Linked DNA regions of Homo sapiens: all the other regions are linked to region 3. The links are contacts of gene promoters, found by promoter capture Hi-C in blood cells and fetal thymus (Javierre and others, 2016). All regions are on one chromosome and are shown on one strand. The core of a region is centred on a gene start or on the middle of the fragment in contact, and the rest is flanking DNA. Distances in the headings are between cores, read along the strand shown.

Region 1 (2,739 bases), core at 3-2,502, 500 kb after region 3:
GCACAGGGCCTGGCTTAGTAGGTTCTCAGAACGTTTTCTGAATGGCCAAATGAAGGCTTGACCCTGCGAGGCCCATACTGTTCTCTCAGTTTCACAGATAAAGAAACAGGGGTTCAAAAAAGCTAAGCCATCTTCCCAAGCTTACATAACCAGGCTGAATCGTATGCAGGCATCTTTCTACACACCATTTTCTCTGCCTGTAATTCTCTCTTCTCTCTTTTTCCTGGCTCATTCTTTAGACTCAGCTTAGGTATCACTGCCTCGAGGAAGCCCTCCAGGGTCTTTCTTCTGGGCTCACCCAGCACTTCTCTCCCAACACTGCAGAGTAGACTGTTTTTCCCACTGGATTGTGAACACAGGGACCAGGACTGCCTCTAGGGTGTGTGAGGCCTCTGTCTCTGGAAACAATTTGTCACTTAAAATCAGTATGTCAGCGCCATTCTGGAGGCCCCATTTCATGGGATTCTATAAAAGAAGTACTACACTGGCCAGTGGAAGTGATCCATTTGCCAGACTGCTCTACTGGGACCAGGGCCTGGCCATGCAGTCCCAGGTAAAGCCTATAGGAGTTAATCCTAGAGTTCCTTAGGGCATCTGGTCAACCCCCGGTGTGAAGGAGAGGGTTGGAAAGAGCCCCGAAGGGGAGAAATGGACCAGGGCCTATACAGGTCTCAGTCTGGGCTCACAGCATCCCATCTGTAAGATACTGCAAGCCCTAGTCACCTGATACTGTCACCGGATCCAAGTACCCACAAATAATACTCAAACCTGGCTCAGACGTCACCAGCAGGGATCAGCAAAGACTAGCACATTCTAGGCCTCAGTTTCGCCACTTGTAAAATAAGGCTGTTAGGTTGAATAGTCTCTGAGGATTTTAGGATTGCTCCAGGAAATCAGTGAAGGATCGTTATTGATTGCCCCCAAATATTTCTTGGTATTTACTGCAAATCCCAAGTCCCAGGCAATGGAGAGGGATTTAGAAAATGTTGAGGTTGGCACTCAAAGTGTGAGGCTGCTTGAGAAGTAAGGCAGGAGCAGTGTCCCTGCACACCCAGGTCAAAGAGCAGTATTGACAGAGGCCTTTTCCATTCCATTCACCACTGGGGCAACGTAGTCATGGGCCATGCATATGGCCTGGGAGGTGTATACAACCCAAACCCAAGATGAGCCTATGGAGTAATGAAGCTGCTAAATGTGTGGGTGGCCCTAGCAGAAGAATAGTCTCTAGATCAAGGGAGGTCAGTATCTGCTATCCTTGCTGACCAGCCCACATCTAGAATTAGGCATTCCGTGATGAGCTTCTTGTTTCAAGAGGAACATGGAGGAATTATATACTATGTCTAGCTCTTAGAAGGGTCATTACATAGAAACAAAAGCAAAATTAATATTGTGAGACGCCAGAGGGCGGAGCAAGGGTAGACGATGCAAGTAGGGAGATTTCAGCTAGATTTGAGAAAGTCTATTCTAATAATCCCAGCCGCTCAGAAATGGACTCAGCTGCCTGGGGAGATAGTGAGGTCTCTGCCCCCAGAGGTGTGCAAACAGTGGGTGGATGGGCTACCTCTGAGAGGCTGCAGGGCAGGTCCCTGCCCCGGGAGCAGTTCTGTTAGACTCCCTTTAAGGTCCTTTACAACTCTAAGATTCTGAGACTAAATCATCATTGAGAATCTGTCTTGTGCTGGATGCCGTGGAGGTGAAAAGAGAAAAGAGACAGGACCCCAGCCCCCAAAGTGCTCTCATTCAGGTGGGCAAGACAGACAGGACATTGTCATTTATAATTGAGTGGCAACTGTCATGATTGGGGGTAGTGAAAGTACTGAGGGCTGTGAAAGCCTAGAGGAAGGGGCCACCTTGCACCATGACCACAAGCATGTCCTTGGGGCTGGTGATGGTGGCCCTTAGAACAGCACTATCCAATAGAACTCTCTACAGAGATGGAAATGTGTTATATCTGTGCTGTTCAATATGGTAGCCCTTGAATTGTGGCTGGTTGGACTGAATTTTACATTTTACTTAATTTAATAGCTGTATGTGGCAAGTGCCTACTATATTGGGCAGCACAGACAGAAGACATTTCTACCATTGCAGAAAGTTCTATTGGACATCACTGCTCTAACGAGTTAAAATAGGCAGCTCTGTGATCCCAAGGCGCCTTCCTTTCCTCCCCTCACCGTGTCAGTACCACAGAGAGTGAGGCCTGCAGACACGGGTGTCAGAGCACCGCACGGGCCAGCTTCCTGTGTGACACTGAATCAATCCCTCCACCTCTCTGGGCTACAGCATCAATAAAATGAGGCATCAAACTATAAGGCTTTACAAAATAATAACAATAAAGACTCTGAGGGTCTAGAACTAGGAGAAAAAGGAAGCTTCACTTTTTCTCCTTGTTCTTCCCTTTCCCCTCTATTGACCCCAACCTTCCACCACCCAGACCACAGCTCCCAAAGACCCCAAGAACTTTTGTATTTACCGCTTAGCACTTGCTATACGGGTCTATGACCTTCTTTAGAAACTTTTTCTTTACGAGTTTATTTTGGCTTGTGCTGAGCATTCATAAAATTCCTAGGGAACTGGAGGTTTAAACCTTGGGCTTGTAAAAGGAGTAGGTGGGAGGGAGTGGGAACCCGGCAGAGAAGGGAGAGGACTGCAGCCAGCCCTTGGAAGTTGGAAGACAAGACTAAGTTTTCCACTCTCCACTCAAGGCCTCGCCTTCTGTGAGTCCTGGGTCTTTTAGGTCAT
Region 2 (2,972 bases), core at 344-2,843, 470 kb after region 3:
CAGTCCCAAGCTTCTGATTGCTCCCCATGTCTTCAGCTCGCCGGGGTCAGCCTCATTCATCAGCAATGCTGCCTGTCATTGGTGCTCTGACAGGCCTCTGGCCACCAGGGTCTGCTGCTTGGTGAAAGCCCTTATTAAAATTAATCTCATTTTTACGACGGCACTATCTATCTTCTGTCCAGTGGGAACTCGGGGTCACTGTATTTTTGTTTACTGTCAGGCTACTTCCTTTGGCCATAAATTGCTTCCCTTCCCAGCTGAGCTGGAGCCCTAGAGAACAACCCAATTCTGGTGTGTTTGTGTGTCTGTGTGTGTGTGTGTGTGTGTGTGTGTGTGTGTGTGTGTGTGTTTTCAAAGCCAACCCTGCTTGGCTGCCTCATTTCTCTGGCCTCTGCTGCTACCCTCCATCTGCTCTCTATTTGAGGAATCTGAAGATTTCAGCTTTTCCTGTCTCTTGGCGGCAGCCACCTACACTCTATCCTCTGTTCCCTCTTCTTGTTTAGAGAGTCTGTTCAAGGCTCTGCATGTTCAAGAGATAGTGCTGAGCATTTGTCACAACACAGACTTGCACTAAGGGAACCAGGGAGCACAGTCCAGCAGGAGAGACCAACGGGATGCACAGGGAGTGCTGCTGTTCCTTCTGCCTACAGTGCTTTCTCCCACTACCTTCCTCCAGGGAACTCCTACTCATCCTTCAAAACCCGGCTTCAACTGTGCGCCTGCTCTGGAGGCTTTTTTTTTTTTTTTTTTTTTTTTTGAGACAGTCTCACTCTTTCGCCAGGCTGGAGTTCTGTGGCCCAATCTCTGCTCACTGCAACCTCCAACTCCCTGGTTCAAGCGATTCTCCTGCCTCAGCCTCCGAGTAGCTGGGATTACAGGCAAGTGACACTATGCCCAGCTAATTTTTGTATTTTTAGTAGAGATGGGATTTCACTATGTTGGCCAGGCTGGTCTTGATCTTCTGACCTCATGGTCTGCCCACCTTGGCCTCCCAGTGCTGGGATTACCAGGTGAGCCACTGCGCCCCGCCCTCTGGAGGTCTTTTTGGATCCTCTTCCAAGGCTGAGTTACTTGTTATGTCCTCTGTGATTGTACAGAGCACATCCCGTACTATTTTGTAATTATTGGTTTAATGTATTGCTCCTTGAAAGTGGCGAACATTTCTGTATTTGTTTCCTAGAAATGCCATAACAAAATACCACAAATTGGGTGGCTTAAAACAACAGAAATTTATTCTGTCACAGTTCTGGAGTCTAGACGTCTGAGATTAACATGTCGGCAGGGCCGTGCTCCCTCTCAAGCTTCTCGGGGAGAAGCCTCTTTCAGCTTCTGGTGGCCCCAGGCATTCCTTGGATTTTGGCAGCACCTCTGCCTCTGTGCGTTTGTATCTCTTCTTATACTGACACCACCCTACTCCACTATGGCCTCATTTAATGTTACTAATTATATCTGCAATGACTCTATTTCTAAACAAGGTCACATTTTGAGGTACTTGGGGTTAGGACTTCAACTTGTCTTTTTGAGGCACACAGTTCAGCCCATCACAATCTCTCATTCATGATTATATTCCCAACATCTGGCACAACCCTTGGCTTGGAGCAGGTGCTCAGATCACATCGAACAAACGAACACTTTCCTAAATGATTAAACAATTATATAAAATACAATAGCAAGATATGTAAGCCCCAGTGAAAGACAGAAGTGAGTGTTCCATGCACCCAGTGGGAGGGGGGCTCATTCCACCTGGGGCTTCTGGGATGGCACTTCCACGAGGCTTTGAGGAATAAGTAGAGGTTCAACTCATGCAAAAGTTGAGACAAGGCACAAAAGGACCAAAATCATGGACACAAAGTGAGGACTATTCTCATTGACCTGAGGACCAGCTGAAGCTTGGACAGTAGACTTTATTTTGGGCCACACAGCTAGGAAGTGGCAGAAGTAGCACTGAGACCCGTGACAATCTGTCACTTTCTCTGTTATTATGTTTCTCTCTTGTGTTAAAAACAAGTTCCCTCTGTGGCCCCTGAAAGACCTGTGGCTCTTTTCTTGAAAGATCTTACTTGTCTTAAATAGGCAAGTCTCTGAAGCTTCTCTCCGAGACTTTTATAATTTATGTTGTTATTGTGGGTCTGTGGACAGATGTTAATTTTCACTTTGCAAGCCCATTTTTCAGATTGGCTTGTGGAAGCAGAGCGTGCTTTGGTGGCTGGTCCTTTCAGATCACCATGGAGTGTAGGGAACTGGACAGGCCATAGAGAGTGGCTACTTACCTGCTCCCACAAAATACCTCACATCCAATAATTCCTCTGGCATTTCTTTTAAAGCATATATTCAGGGGAATATGGCAGGCATGGAAAGCCCGCCCATTAACCTCTTTCTCTGCATCAAAGTCTTATGAGTGATTAACCCCACCAATGAAGCCTATCCATGGGGTTGTGTGAAGGGAAGAACTGGGTCCCAAATGACAAGCAGCCAAGAGTGGGGGTGTACAACCTGAACCCCAAAGACACATCCTGGGTTTGAATCTTGGTTTGGCCATTCATTAGCCAAAGGCTGTGCCTCAGTTTACCATCTGTCAGTGAGAATTATGGTGGCATCCACCCCATGAGGATTTTTGTGAGAATAAAATGAGTTGGTAGATGTGAAGTGCTCAGAGCAGCACCTGTTACAGAGCAGGCACAGACAGAAGTGGTAGCTGTTGCTATTGTTATTGTAATGAATAGAGCTTCATGTATGGAGTGCGGAGAGAACTGGGTTGGAAGGTTTGGGTTTCTAACATATTATCTATGATGATAGTAACTTTGGCTAAAGACGTTTAGCAAAATCCAGCATTATATCAACATCATTTTCATTGCACAAGAAGGCTGCTGCATGCTGGAAGGAGCTATTGAGAGAGAGTGGGAGGACAGTGTTTCAAGGCAGAATCTTAGTGAACGAATGCCTTGAGGCAGCAGGGTGAGGGTGCTTAGGGC
Region 3 (2,934 bases), core at 403-2,902:
AGACATAAAAAGGAATGAGATCATGTACTTTGCAGGGACATGGATGGAGCTGGAGGCCATTATCCTCAGCAAAGTAACACAGGAACAGAAAACCAAACACTGCATACTCTCACTTAAAAGTGGGATCTTTTAAGTGAACAAAAAAGAGGGGAACAACATACAGTGGGGCCTGTTGGGGCAGGGGTGGGGAGAGCATCAGGATAAATAGCTAATGCATGCTGGGCTTAATATCTAGGTGATGGGTTGACAGTTGCAGCAAACCACCATGTTTTTACCTATGTAACAAACCTGTACATCCTGCACATGTAGCCTGGAACTTAAAATAAAATTAAATTAAAATTAAAAAGAAAACAGCACCACCACCATCAAGGAAAGCCTGTTCCCAACCTCCAATTCCAGCTCACTAGCTCAGCCTGTCTCATTCCCCTTTTTCTCTCTCCCCTCTCCTCCCTGCCCCTTTCCTCACTTTGCCCCCACCTGTCCTCACCATCCCACCCCATACCTCCAAGCTCACAGCTAGAACTGACCAAAGGCCCAGTTATTTATTTACAAAGTCCATGTCCAGAACTGTACCAGCCTCAGCGGTGTGGAATAAACTGGTGTGGCCAGGTCCATTGTGCTGATGCCTCAAGAGATCCAGGCTGGTACAGATGGGTCTGGCACATTCTGTACCTGCCAGCCAAGCAGAGCATCCAGCTTACTTCTCACTCGACTCCTTACATAACGCTCGTCGGGTACTCTCCATTCCTTGGGCTTAAATTCCATAGTGTAATATTAGTAAACCAGGCTAAATGATCCTAAGGATCTTGCTAGCTCTGACGCACCGTGATCTTGCATCCAATTCAGTTCACTCTGTAATAAATAATCATAATAACAATAGTAATTTTCCAAATAGCTAACAGTTATTGTGTACTGTATGCTAAGCACTATTCTATGTATTTCATGTGAATGTTTAACATTCATAACACCACTTATCATGTAGACATCATTTACTGCCCTAATTTACAGTGAACTGGAGCTCCGAGAGTCACGTTGATTTAACCACAGTCCCAGGCTACCAAGTGTCCAAGCTGTGCTGCTTCCAAGCTGCCTGACCCAGACCTGAGCTCTTAACCTCTCAATGGGCATCCAGGTCGAAAGCAGAATCTCTGGCTCAAGTGCCGACTGCCCAGCTGTTTCAGAACTCCACCATGCACCCAACTGCTCCTCCAGGACTTCCCTACGGATGTGTTGCAGGCTCTGAAACGTCACACATCCACGCCGCATCCTCATCCCACACATGCTCCTGCTTGTCCCTGGCATCTGCCATTCTCAGTGCCATTCACTAGCCTATATGATGCCTTCGAATCAGAGGAAGTTACCTCTCCCTCCAGGGATACGGGCCCACACCTGGTCTCAGGGACCCTTTAGTGGAGGCACAGTCTATATAGCCCAGAGCAGTGCCCCTGATGCCATCGTCTTCCAATTTGCTCAGAGCAGACACTGGGATTCATCCTTAATATCTCTCTCTTCTCTCTCTCTCTCTCTCTCTCTCTCTCGCGGAGGCCCCACTGCCCTTGCATTCCACAGGAAGTCCCAGTTGCTGGCATGACCTGAGAGGTTCCTGGGACCACGCCATGGAAATGCGTCCGGTCCCAGTGTGACGGGGAAGAGCCGCGCCTGAAGCTCAACTTCCGAGGCTCTCATCAATCTACGCTTCCTTTGGAGCGTGCAGCCACCAGGTGGCAGCCGAGGCCACGGGCAGACAGAAAAGCTCCCGAAACTGAAGGACTGCCAGGCAGCAGAGTTCCGGAGGGCTCCCAGGACCTTCAACCAGAAAGAGACAGAGCATATGCGCATATGTATGTCTGAGCCCGTGCACGGAGGAGGAGTATGAACAGACACCGCGGGACAGATGGCTGGAGTTTAGTCCCTTCCTTCGGGGCTCTTCACCACTCCTTGGGCTTCCCTTCTCCTGTCCAGCCCTGTCCTGGGTGCACAGAGAGGGAAGTCACTCCATTCCTGCCCTTGAGGAGCTCCCAGACCCAGGGCAGGAGCAGGATGCAGACAAGTAGACAGCACCCTGGGGTGGGTGGAGTGAGTGGGGCAGGTGGGGCGGGTGCAAAGAGAGGGAGGAGCAGGGGCTGAAGTTGCCCGGAGGAAGTGCTGAACCCAGGAGTGGGGAAAGGAGCATCTGGGAAGAAATGGCATCTACGCTGATCATGGAGGGCTTTCTGGCAAGTCTCAGGAGCAATAATAACACGGATGTCATCTCTGTTTCCTCCCAGCAGCCCTGCAAGGAATGTACTATAGAGCCAATTTTACCGGCAAAGGAATGGAAGATCTGAAAGGCTAGGCGATCCCACAAGCATCGAGGAGCAGGCTGGAATTTGAACCAATCGGCATGATTCCCAAGCTCAAGCTTTTGGCCACCCCTGCACTGCCAGGGACAAAAAAAAAAAAAAAAAAAAACCCTGGGAGGAGAGCCAAGCTAGGGAGTCAAGACCCTCCAGCCAGGTCTGGATGGGAGGCAGGTGCCTCCACCCTGGTCCCAGAGCAAGTTCTGCTGGCTTCAGCCACCTGACTTCCCTGTGAAGGTGGGTAGAGGCCAGAGCAGACTGTGTGTGATTCTGGCCCCAGCCCCAGCACCTCTACCCCCACCTTTACTACCCCTAGGCTGCGGGAAGAGGCTTTGCCCAGCAATAGTCCTGATCTAATGGATCCTTGAAGCACAATAAACAGATAGTATTTCTGCATGTGTCACTCTGAGTATGACGGCAGTAATCTTGAAACTCCCCTTGACCACCTGGCACTCTGGAGACGGAACTCCACAGCCTGTTTTCAAAGCCAACTCCTGGCTGGAAGTTCCTCTTCAAGTCTAAATGAAGTAAGCAGTGCTGCAGTCTTCCCTCAACTGTGCAGTTGCTGGGTGGAGGCTTTTCTTTTCTGCCTGAG

The links. Contacts are between HindIII fragments. The CHiCAGO score rates a contact against its expected background, and 5 or more counts as called.
Region 1: a contact is called between a fragment that was not itself captured here and the fragment with the promoter of LINC00853 in region 3, in 7 of 17 cell types (naive B cells, activated CD4 T cells, naive CD8 T cells and 4 more). The highest score is 8.8, in naive B cells.
Region 2: a contact is called between a fragment that was not itself captured here and the fragment with the promoter of LINC00853 in region 3, in 1 of 17 cell types (total B cells). The highest score is 5.3, in total B cells.

The regions. Positions count from the first base shown.
Region 1 is chr1:47,682,501-47,685,239 of GRCh38, forward strand. No RefSeq gene overlaps it. Among named protein-coding and RNA genes, the nearest start is that of LINC01738, 4.6 kb to the right of the region's middle. The HindIII fragment of the contact is 2,229 bases long and covers 139-2,367 here.
Region 2 is chr1:47,652,352-47,655,323 of GRCh38, forward strand. No RefSeq gene overlaps it. Among named protein-coding and RNA genes, the nearest start is that of LINC01738, 35 kb to the right of the region's middle. The HindIII fragment of the contact is 588 bases long and covers 1,300-1,887 here.
Region 3 is chr1:47,177,598-47,180,531 of GRCh38, forward strand. LINC00853 (long intergenic non-protein coding RNA 853) reads left to right here and starts at 1,653. Exons shown (of 2, transcript NR_047498.1): 1 at 1,653-1,841; 2 at 2,271-2,742. It overlaps CYP4A22-AS1 (CYP4A22 antisense RNA 1), which reads right to left and starts at 2,026. Exons shown (of 6, transcript NR_199717.1): 1 at 1,593-2,026; 2 at 528-852. RefSeq lists an enhancer at 1,524-2,025. The HindIII fragment of the contact is 3,617 bases long and covers 1-2,399 here.